Regions from separate parts of the Homo sapiens genome. Here region 1 is linked to region 2. The links are contacts of gene promoters, found by promoter capture Hi-C in human tissues and cell types (Jung and others, 2019). All regions are on one chromosome and are shown on one strand. The core of a region is centred on a gene start or on the middle of the fragment in contact, and the rest is flanking DNA. Distances in the headings are between cores, read along the strand shown. Region 1 overlaps MBNL1 (muscleblind like splicing regulator 1). Region 2 holds the start of P2RY12 (purinergic receptor P2Y12).

What was found. The method cuts DNA at HindIII sites, captures the fragments that hold promoters and counts their contacts. A contact is called where the count stands out against the background at its distance.
Region 1: a contact is called between a fragment that was not itself captured here and the fragment with the promoter of P2RY12 in region 2, in 1 of the 25 tissues and cell types used here (dorsolateral prefrontal cortex).

What each region holds. Positions count from the first base shown.
Region 1 is chr3:152,411,872-152,417,686 of GRCh38, reverse strand. It overlaps MBNL1 (muscleblind like splicing regulator 1), which reads right to left. Exons shown (of 10, transcript NM_021038.5): 3 at 2,576-2,746. Among named protein-coding and RNA genes, the nearest start is that of MBNL1-AS1, 150 kb to the right of the region's middle. The HindIII fragment of the contact is 3,755 bases long and covers 1,756-5,510 here.
Region 2 is chr3:151,380,134-151,386,448 of GRCh38, reverse strand. It overlaps P2RY12 (purinergic receptor P2Y12), which reads left to right and starts at 1,696. Exons shown (of 3, transcript NM_022788.5): 1 at 1,696-1,757. It overlaps MED12L (mediator complex subunit 12L), which reads right to left. Exons shown (of 45, transcript NM_001393769.1): 32 at 6,225-6,315; 33 at 3,704-3,793; 34 at 2,561-2,670; 35 at 2,231-2,366; 36 at 1,258-1,419. The HindIII fragment of the contact is 3,937 bases long and covers 102-4,038 here.

The DNA of each region.
Region 1 (5,815 bases), core at 2,384-4,883, 1.0 Mb before region 2:
CTTCATTTGTTCTTTCACTCATCAAGTAATTATTGATCTCTGCTATATGCCAGGCATAATACTAGATGCTTCCAAGTTTGCTTAGACCTTGCTGTCTCCCTCTCTCCTTCCTGCTCCTCCAAGGTTTGGGAGCTAAACTGGCCCTAGAGAAGTTAGATGCTGTCACCTACTTGACTAAAAGTCTTGTCACTGCTCAGATACTCTGAATACTGCTGATGGTATGGAACTGCTCATAGTATTTATCTTCTTTGATATGACTACTACCTGGGTTGGATCCAAGTTAATGCCATGTCTTCAAACACTCATCTGTAAGTAGTGGCCATTCTCTCTGAGTGGCAACCCTTTTCCACATTAGTCACCTGGCTTCCTCTAGTCCTGTTACAATCCCTATTTGTAAGGCCCACATTAAACTCCCAGTAAGCAGCTGATTATGACCATTCCATTCATTTCTGAATCTCCATGTCATTACCCTCATCAAAACAGGGCTGACTACAAAAAGGATAAAAAAGTCTCAGGTGAGGTTTTGAAGGCAAATTTCCTGTACTAAAGCTTTCTCTACAGTCATTAAAGTCCCAAATGCCTTAAAATTGAATAATTAAAATGATTTCTGTACTTATTACAAAGTCATCACTCTGAATAAAGTATATTTTTAGACAATGATCTCAGGATACCTTTAGCAGAAGGGTAATTCCACATTCAAATCTAGTCATATGAGGAAAAATTAACATAAAGCCTGAATATGCTCACAACTAATAAAAATAATTTCTTTGTCTAAGCAGAGAATTTTCTAACAAAAGCATCAGAAAATGTGATGATTGTTCTCATGGTTTCAGAAATCTGTGATTTAGTGATTTCACGAACAATATATTTGTTACTAGTATTTCAAAGGGCATAAATATTGTTTACAGTTTGTCCCAGGATTGCACACACGACATCCTAGAATGGCCTTCAGAGTAAGACTCAAGGGCTAGGTCAGGAAATGTGGTGGCCAGTGTTCTCTTCCATCTGGGAACACACTTGCTGATCTCAAAGGTGCTCCCAGTCACAGAGAGGGTACAGCCTGGTGGTAAGCATGCTTTAAATGTTTAAGTAGAACAAAGTATCTTCACATCAAGGATAGGCCTTAGAGGAGCTAAGGTGGTAGCCACCCTAAAGACTTGTCTGATCTTTGAAACTGTATGTGAGAGCCAAGTGCAAATGAGACTTTTGTCCTACATGTTCTGTTAGAGAATTATTATAGCTAATTTTTTTAACCAAATGGAAATCTTCATGCTATCCTAATACAGCCATGTGAAATTAGTAGATGTCACAAAAATAACTTTAAGCTATCACATTTTTAACTGAGCCTACAATCATAGGGGAAAAAACCAGATCAGGTTAAAACAGACACATAATTAATTATATTCTCTCACTTCAACTGTATAGAACTGATAACTGGTATCACTGCCCATGTAATGTGGAGATCCTCCCACCTTGAAATGCAATCCCCCACTCTTTTTTGAAATGATTGTTGCATAAAGTTCTAAAAGAGAATAATAATTACATTGAGTTCAGGTTTTAGAATGTATTCGGAAAAAAAACAGCACACATGCTACAGTTAGCATAGCAGAAAAACATGGGTCTTCACATTCCCATGACCCCACGATACTGCATATAAGCTAGTGACATAAATTACTGACAGATATATTCTGATAATTGCAAATTTCAACATGCATTTGAATTTAAATGTAGAATTACTATATCACAATTAACGTCAAAGCACCTTTTTCAACCTAACACTAATTCTTATAATAATCTTTCACATTTTGATGAATAAATATGAATAGAGATTATTAAAGTCATTTATTACACACATACTCCAGAAATCCAAACAGTTAAATAGAAATGTGTGTTTCAAAGCAAGAGTCACCCACATATACTGCTCAGCAAATACTAAATATCTATGACCACCCAGTTTTTCAACTTTAGCTCTTTAAGCCCTCAGAGTTTCAGCCTACCCTGATTAATTCTTCTTTAATGAGACCTCCAAGTCTATGATATTGATTTACTACTGTCAGAATTTTCCTAGCATTTGTAGCTATGAAATAATTTCAACTTAAATTATAGAAGAACAAGAAAGGTACCTTTTCAAGAAAAAGAACTATACACATTCTTTTCAAGGAGGGAGGAAAGGGAGAACTATTCTCAAAATTAAAGACTATACATACCAATTTTAAATATCATTATTACCTCTGAAGGTGGCTGAAAATGTATATTGACTATACCGGTGAGTTAGATGATCATTGTAACACAGAGCATTTTAACATCTGCCAGTCTTGGGATTTATTTTGAAGAAAAATTTAGAGGAAAAAAAATGCTATAATGTAAATGTCCACATGATTTAGCCAGAAAATGAGTGCCTACACAAAGTATAAATTGTTCCAGCATTTGACTGATACTTAATTTTGCTAGAAAATGGTAAGGCAACTGAAATTGTTGCCTGTGTTCATTTGATCCGGTGCAATAATCACTTTAGTACTACAACTGAGCACTTTGAATCAAAAACTTAATGAGTGAAGACTGAAAACATGCTTACCACGGGTTGTAATGGGGCACCAGGCATCATGGCATTGGCTAGTTGCATTTGCTGGGCCAACATGGCCATGTTCTTCTGCTGAATCAAGTTATTGCGTCCATTTATCTCCAACTGCGTTTTTAAATGTGGGGGTGGATGAAGATATTTGCAGTTCTCCCTGGAGCAACGGCCCTAGAGAAACAAAAGCAGCAAACATCATCTTAGAAAAGAATAAAATCAGCAAATTATGAAAAAAATATAATGCAAACCACCCACTTGAATGTATCATTGGTTTTTCACACAATGCATTGTCCATATCATTTGATCATACATTTAGAACAAGTAATGAATTCACCAGAATGTACTATCAATATGAGAGGTTGAGACATTTAAAGAAGTTTAAAAGCTTAAAGAGTTTCAATTATTTTAATAATATTAGCATTAACATTTCCAGATTCAAGTTTAAAAATCTACAAACTGCTAGGGTAATACTAAAACATAGAATATCAAACAAAGAATATCAGGCTTCTGTCATAATATCTTCCTGGTTAAATTTAATGATTTAAGAATCCAAGTTTTATATTTTATTTTTACTTGTACTGAAATCTTAGGAAATGAACTTAGAGGACTCAAGGCACATTGTATCTTCAGTAAAACACCTTTATAAGTATCTAATAACAAATAAAATTAAAATTACTACTAGGCTTTACCAGTCCATGTATTAGGAATTTACAATTGAAAAGAAGAAAACTCCCATGTGTTCCCACTGTATATAGAGATTAATAAGTATAATGAAATACTGGTGAAAAATGTGGCCTTTAACTTTTCAAAGATAAATCTAGTCTTCTCCATTTTACAAAATCTATGAAACAATAAGAAATGGATATATTTACCCTCCAAAAAATTTAAAAAATGGAGAAACTAAGTTGCTATAAGCCAGGAATGGCGGTGCACTACCTCTGTACTCTGTCCTAAGCACTTCATTCTAGTACCTTCCTTGAATATATACCATCCAGACCATCCTACCAACGAACATAGCCTGGACTGAAATAATGGAGATAAATCATACATGTTTAGTAATCTTAGCACTTTGGGAGGCTGAGGCAAGAGATCTCCTGAGCACACGAGTTTGAGACCAGCCTGGGCAACATAGTGAGAGCTCATCTCAAAAAAAAGAAGTTACTATAAAATCATAAGTACAAATATACCTTCCTTTTGGATAATTCTTTTTAATAAAATATTCATTAAAGCCTATAATATGTAATATGGTGTGAGGCACTCTACCCATATTATTTCAACATATTTTCAAATCATATCAATAGTAGCAGATCTCATCAACCACCTTGACAACTTCTTTCACCAATAAATCTAATTAAAACTGTTTACAAGCAGTAGAATAAAAGAAAGATTAATTGAAGCCATCATTCACATTCTAAAAACACCAATTTAGTATAATTGAACTTTATGCTATAAATTGACTCTGATGCTTATACTTATGATAAAATCTGTCATAATTCTAATTTAAATGATCGGTTTTGGCTCCTTTTGTATGAGGTTTTTAGGAATGTCTCTACACTAGGCTAGAATCATAGGATACTGCTTGTTATTTTTACAAGCTTCATGTAATACTTGAAATCAGTAGGCAGCAGGGGACAGTGGATAGCAGAGACCTTACAGGTCTCATGAGCTGGGACAGAGGCCTAGCTCTCTTACTCATCAAATGCATGAACTGCATAAGGAGCTAACTTCTGTAAGCCTCAGGCTCTCTATCTAGTACTGAATTATTAGAAAACGTGTATCACTGCCACCACAATTTAATTTGTGTATCAAACAAAAGAAAAACAAAACATTGGTATGAAGATGATTTTTTAAACATCTTTTAGTTATGGCTATTGGTATGCTCACGAAGTAACATATATATTAAACTTATTCCATATAAAATCACCATGCTTGATGTAGGTTGGGATCATGAGCATGTTATTAGCTTAAAAGTGTCTTGATACAAAACAACCAAAAACAACCTTAGACTCGCAAGATAAACCACAGAGTAGGACTGGCAAAAATAAATAAATTCCTGGATAGCATATGGTCTAATTTCAGGGATATTTAGTTGAAGTCTCCTAGAAAAAGCCTGCTTTTTCAATACAAAGAATAATTTGGCTGCAACAGAAATTCTTGTTCTCAGTATCTCCGCATCATAGTTCTTACTAAAACTGGATTTCTTTAAATGCAGGTGAGAGGGGTTATGGTCACCACGAGAATTCACTTCCCATCAATTCACTCACATCGGTTTCTATAGTTCTGTAAATAGTAGATAGATAGCCCTGGGCCATGAACCAGACCTTCCAACACTAACTGTGGTCTTCCTAAGCACTTCATTCCAGTACCTTCCTTGAATACACACCACCCAGACCATCCTGCCAATGAACATAGCCTGGACTGAAATAACAGAGAGAAATCACGTGTGTTTGGTATACGTATATTCTGCATCAGTGCATCTCAAAACTTTTACAAGACGCTCAGACTTTTGATTTTCATTCTGAATATATGACATCTACTCAGGAAAAATGCTGTTCTCCTACATTTTTTATCTATGGTACCTTTCTATGCTCAGCTTGATTTGACTGTGTTGAGCCCTTCATTTTCAAAAAGCTGTGTTCCTAAGAATCAACTGATATTTGGTGAGAACGTATACAGACTACCAAGACTCTCCCACAGAGAGCTGTGACCACAGGTTTGAGGGCCCAGAAATTAACATTTTAACAAGCATTCCAGGTGATTCTGATATAGCAGAAAACACTACAAAATACAATTGTGCAAAGCCAGATAAATTTTCATTTGACATGTGTGGAAAAAATAAGAGAATAATGTCTGCAAATGATATTAGATACACTTTGCTTCTTAGGAAGTTTAAAACATGTTTAATACTGATTCTGCTGCTGAATGATTATAGTTTGACAAAGGAAAAAGGTCAAAAATAAGTTAGAATATACATCCTCCATTAGAATTGCCTAAAACCACCAGGAACATACCTTCCTTTGAGAGTTAAGGTAAATACTATGTTGGTATGTTGCCAGCTTCATCCATCTCTGAGCCCTTAGTAGCATCACACCTCAATAAACATTCACAGAATGAATGAATGTTCATTTCTTACTAAATGCCTCAAGATGAATTCTACTCTAACTCTATTCTAGAGACAATGGAGATAATAGAAAAAACTAAATATGATACCAAATCTTGGTTCTGAGTTGTACTGACCTA
Region 2 (6,315 bases), core at 447-2,946:
TACTGCACTCCAGCCTGGGCGACAGAGCGAGATTCCATCTCAAAAAATATAAATAAACAAAGTAAAACAAAATAAAACCAAGGTTCAATTGCCACCTGTAAATTGACTGTTTCCTAATATTTGTCTTGAGATGAGAACTTTTTCCTTGGTGTAAAAACCACACATCCAAATGGATTCCAGATGTCTTACTACCAGGAAGTCCGCTGACACTGCAAACTCAAACTTGACCATGACTTTAGCTTTTTTTCTTTACACAAACTGGTATTAGATTCTCAGGCTACTCTAAATTCCCTGGTAAATCTGATTCTTTCATGTCTTCATATAAACTCTCCCTTTATTTGTACCACAATTTTCCCTACCTCCCAGCTAACTCTTAATCCTTCAAAATGACTCGTGTCAATTTTCCTGGGGACCCTCTATTCTATCCCCTAATACTCTCTCTGTACCATGTCACACAAATCTCATTACACTGTAATTGTCTGTCTACTTCCCCCTTGAGGGTAGGAACTCTGTCTTTCATCTTGGTGATTGTGGAATGTCGGTGGTTGCTTACTGTTCATTAAAAGAGTAACTGACCAATTTTCTCATATTTTAGAGAACCATCTTTAATATCTTATATAAAACAAATGTCCATTAAATACTGCTTGATAGGAATAGAGAATATCCTAACAATTAAAATAATTTTTATTTGAAATAGCTTACTACAGGAAGGTTTTTTTTTTTTTTTCCCCCCCCAGAGACAGGGTCTCACTTTGTTGCCCAGGCTAGGGTGTAGTGGCTATTCACAGGCATGAGCCTAGCACATTGCAGCCTTAAACTCCTGGCTTCAAGCAATCCTCCTGCCTCAGCCTCCCAAGTAGCTGGAACTAAAGACATGTGCCACCATGCTCAGCTTACAAGAAATTTTTCATTGATAAATATATTCTGCTTCTAAATCTGAAGTATAATCAGAACTTATTTATGCAATTTTTTTTTTACACTAAGCTTTTACTTAGTTTTCTCTTGGTAGGTTTCCAAAAATTTACTTAAATTCAGGGAAACATTTTAAGTCCTTTAAACATATAAAACGTAGATCTTCAAAGATATGACCTCTTTATATGATAATGCCAATGACTAAGTACACTTAGAAGACAAGCATATGCCTTAAAAACATCAACAGCAAAATTAATATATTTTATATATCCTATGGTAAGACAAAAAAAAGTATTTCATCTTTTGTAAATAAATTTATATATAAGAAAAAACATTCACTCTTGCCTGTTTTTTATCTATAGAGTCAAATCCAGCAATTTTGTTTCCTTTTGTGTCAATCAAGGAACCCATAGGTTCACAAGTGATGACATCACATGTCTGTTTCGGCAAAGGTAGTAACTGTCGAACTTTGTCAATACTTTCTGATCGCTTGTCTCCTAGCTCTTTCTAAAGAAAAAAGAGAGAGAGAGAGAGTGAGAAGTGGGACAGAAATTACAATGAAGGCAAAAGTTAACCAGAAGGAAGTTCCCCTATGAAACATTTCCCTTTTTATAGCTTAGCGCATGTTCTTTAACCCTGAACATGTTCTACAAGGCAGTTCCAAATAGAGCAATGAGTGTTTCATTTCTTCTATTTAAGTAGAAAATAGAACACATACAAAGGCACTGTTGTTACACAACAAACATCATAGTGCTGAAATGACAAAAATCCAGGGTAGTGATCACAATCAGAAGACAGGAGCTGCAGAACAGAACACTTTCTCATGTCCAGGGTCAGATTACAAGGTAACCATTGATTTATTTGATTGGTAATGCATCAGATTTATTTGGTTTCTTTTTTGCACTGTTTTCTTACAATTTTTTTTTAAAGGAGTCTGTTAGTGGTCGGTCAAATGAATCGATTTATAAATTTCAATGCAGATGGCTATTTTTTCAATTACACGTGCCAGTCCAAGCATAGAGTTATCCTAAATCTATCTAATGTTAGTATTCTGGTTATATATTTAACAGTGGATTTCTAAAGTTCTTTAAAAAATTAAACATGTTTTATAATGTAATTGTTTTCAATAAAAAATAATCAAGGTTATGTGCATGTAACTTCTGGGTACTAATAAGGTTAGGTGAAACAAATAGCAAATAATCACATTAAATTAAGTTGAATACAATTAATAACATTTAATGAGTAATAAATTAAAATGCACTAGATAATAAATCCATAAACAACTTGAGCTCATAATACAGGCTGATCTCAAACTTACTTTCAGTTTCTTTACTAAATTCATGTATGCACGCTTGTTCTCTTCAGATCCCCCAGGGGATGCATTTGATAGGTCAGAGGCTAACGTTCCATTGATTAAAACACCCAGCATGTCAAGAACTGTTGTGAATAATTCACTAAGAAAGAAAATAATTATTTTCATCTTAAAGTGAAACTGAAATACACTTATTTAACTGAGTATTTTTATTCAAGGCACAGAATTTTTAATAGCATCCAAGTAAATAAGATGTGGCAGAAATCGCCATCAGTATATCAAAGCTTATACCATGCATACATGTAGCAAAATCAATGTGAAGTGATAAAAACATACTTGTTAGTGTGCATGTCAACAGTTCCTGAAGTAATGATCTGAAGGAGTAGCAGGGCCCAGTCTGTAGTCCACTGGGTGCTCCTCTGCACCGTGTCAAACATTCCTCCTACCTAGCAGACAAAATACAGTAAGATATTTGCATTCTGTAAAACAGAAAGAACACCCCATTGCTTTATGTTATCAAATTTTGATTGTTTTTTATTTAAAAAAACAAGGGATGCTCTAGTTTATAGATTACCTTATCTTTTCTCTTTTACCTACATGTTTATCACTATTTTTAGTTCTTTCAGCACAGTTCAGTCATTCAAACATTAACTAAAATGAAGAAGGGACGTGAGTATCTGAATGTGGGCACCAATAAACTTAGCTTTCTTTTGTTCCAAATCTTTTATGATGTCCAGTTTTATGATGCAATTATAGTTGAATTAAACCTGAATAATGTCAAAGTCATGTAATCCAATTATCTGCATCTTTGTGTTTGCTGTACAATTACTATTGAATCTAAGCCTGCTATCATAATACCATATGGAAACATCCACTATCACAGCAGTGGTGGGCAGGAGGCTTGGCCCGCACACCTACCAGTTCACGTGTTGGGACAAGGTTAGAAACAACTGCAAAAGTATCAGGCAGGCCATCCTCCAGAGGGGCCTGCACTTGGGCCTGCCTGATGGGAAAAGAAAACTCAAGGAATGCACAATATGTGAGACATTTTAAATTTCTATAAAACTTCTCTGTGGGATTTGTCTTTATAATCAATTTGATGGAAAGTTGGACAAAACTTTGAGTTAAAAGACTTTTTAAATGGTTTTAAGTAAGTATAGTAGAAGCTAACACTTATAACAGTCTTCTCAGATTTATTCTTAGCACAAACTGAAGAGAAGGAGAGATTCACTGGGGTAGAGGTAGAGAAGGCAAATCTATGCTTAAAATACCTAGCACTGTCTAGATGTCTGACCAGACAGGAAGGAAAGCAGCAAGGGAAACAGAAGGCTTTAGAAACAGGGAAGTAATTACAGAGAGCAAAGAGTGGAAGGCCTCACCTTGTAATGCAGACTTTGCACTTAGGAGAAGTGGAAAGCTGGAGGTATTTTCACATGTAAATATGTTTAATGGAGGGAAAATACTAGAAATGTCACTTACCAAATTTAGGCGGAGTTGCAATGCTTCGTGCATCATCTGCCGCGCTTTTATGTCATCTTGGTATCGTTCTTCTCTCCAGTTACTTAAAATCTAAGATCCGGAAAAAAACTCCCCATTAAAGTTTAATTTTTCTCTCATTTAAAGATAAATTGAGCTTTATACTGATAGCAAAAAACCACTTCTTATCTTTAACAAATTAACAAACAAAGCTAAATAAAATTTTAGCTTTCTTCTTCCTCCATGCAGAAAGAAATCTGGCTATTTATTTGTGCATTTGCCGTTCTAGGTGGAGGAAGAAAATCTTATATAATTATATAGCTAGCCTATGATTAAGTCTGGGAAAATGCTTGAGAGGGCCATCAAATTAAGCATTAATAAAAACTTTTAAAATACATTACCTCATTGATCTTACGAAGAAAAACACTGGAGAGAGAGAATTACATTTTGCCTCAGTCCTGTTATATTTCTAGGGACTTGCTGAACCCTAGCAAATGTATTATTTTGATGTTTTATAGAAGAGAAGGTCTGCTATCTTATGTATGTGTCTTCCTTGATAAAGAGAACGCACGGTACTTTGAAAAATATGGCATTGCAGACATCAGCCAAGTGGCTTTATCAGTTTATAAAGTGGGCTGCTTCTTCACTTCCTCACTGACTCACACTAATGCTGGAAAAGGAAAAATTTGCTTAGGAAAGGGAGCCACAAGTGGGCAACACCCTAAAATCAGATGAGATGAGCAAAAAAAAAGTGCAATTCAAAACAAAAACAAAAAACCACTAACAAAAACCCTATCATGCTCTGAAATATGGTCATTAATGAGAGTCATCTTAAAAGAGTTCAAATGAGTCACATGCAGAAGTACTCCATCCCAACAGATGACCTGTAAGTACCCTGCAAGGTGAGAGGAAAGCACTTCCCAAATCTCATCAGAAGAAATGAACCCCTCCCTAAGGCTGGCTTAAGGGGGCAAGGTAGTTAACTAAACAACAAGCTCTCATGGAGCTCAAATAATAGTAGTGGGACAAATAAAACTAAGTGTAACAAGTGGTTTGAGGCATGGCAATGGCATACAGAATGGCTGTGGTCCTATTTTTAGAGGTGATCAAAGGCCTCCCGAAGGAGGTAACATCTTAACAGAGAACTGAATGAAGGGAGCAGGCCATGCTAATCTCTGGAAGGGAATCTTTCCACCTAAAGGGAAGAAAAGATGCACAGGCACTGAAATGAGAATTTGCTCAGCAAGTTCAAGAACAGTAACATGGCCAGTGCAACAACCATGGAGGAAAGAGGGCCATGACTGGTAGGAGACAAGGTAGGAGAGAGAGCCAGTGTCAAATCATGTCTGGCCTTATCAGCCCGAATTTTTTATACTAGGTATACTGAGGTAATATGTGACTTCCATTTAAAAAGGTTCACTATGATTGCTATATCTAGATCTCTCCTACCCAAAAGGTGAGAAATGACAAGAGGATCAAATAAGATTAAGTGTCCTTGTCCATGTCCATCTAGTACCATTCGAGGGAAAGACATGGTGTCATAGAAACACAGTGCCACAAGAAGGGGTCAATTAGGCTGTGTATCAGGATAAAACACCTCATAAGACCAATCTATCCACTTTGCTTAATTCCATGCTCTCCAATTTCTGTTGTGAATGCTCAGTTTCCTTATAGTACATAGATGCAAGAGCCTCAAACAGTGACCAGGAGAACTGTGTTTGGTGAAAAGGCAATGTCCAAATTATTTCTAAATAAACCAACATGCCTTCTGATTTATTTCTTGTGTACTTGGTTGGCATCAATACAACTGAGTTTCTGAACCTACAGATTTCAAGCTGAAAGCGTGCCTGATAATGTGGCATCCAAGCTTGAGGAGCTGGACTCACTGCCATGCCTACTGCAGCATAGATTGCTCCAGGTCCTCTCCTATGAGGCAGAGTTAGGAGACGGGCAGATAGTTCAAAGTTATATGCAATATATAAAATTTTACTTTTATAGGCAGTACACATTTATTGTATATATCTCATTAATATAAAGTTGTTAATCTTGTGGTGTCTACAATGCCAGGTAGAAGAATAAGGCATGGATTGTTTCTCAGCGTCTACTCAAAACATTTTGTAACCTTACTAGTTGTTTTTTTTTTTTTTTTTTGAGACAGAGTTTCACTATTGTTTCCCAGGCTGGTGTGCAATGGCGCGATCTCAGCTCACTGCAGCCTCTGCCTCCCAGGTTCAAGCAATTCTCCTGCCTTGGCCTCCCGAGTAGCTGGGATCATAGGCGCACACCATCATGCCCGGCTAATTTTTGTATTTTTAGTACAGACGGGGTTTCACCATGTTGGCCAGGCTGGTCTCGAACTCCTGGCCTCAGGTGATCCACCAGCCTCCGCCTCCCAAAGTGCTGGGATTACAGGCATGAGCCACCACACCTGGCCCTTATTAATTTAATCTCAGTATTTGAAAGGCAAATAAATGAATGCCGTTAGAAAGATATTTGCCTGTCTTAATATTATACTATACTTTACCTGGTTAACTTGATTCTGGAGAGATGTTAGGAGGCCTTCCCTTTGTTCATCTTGTCCCTTAAGGCAGGTAAGTACCAGTGAGAGGAAGGGT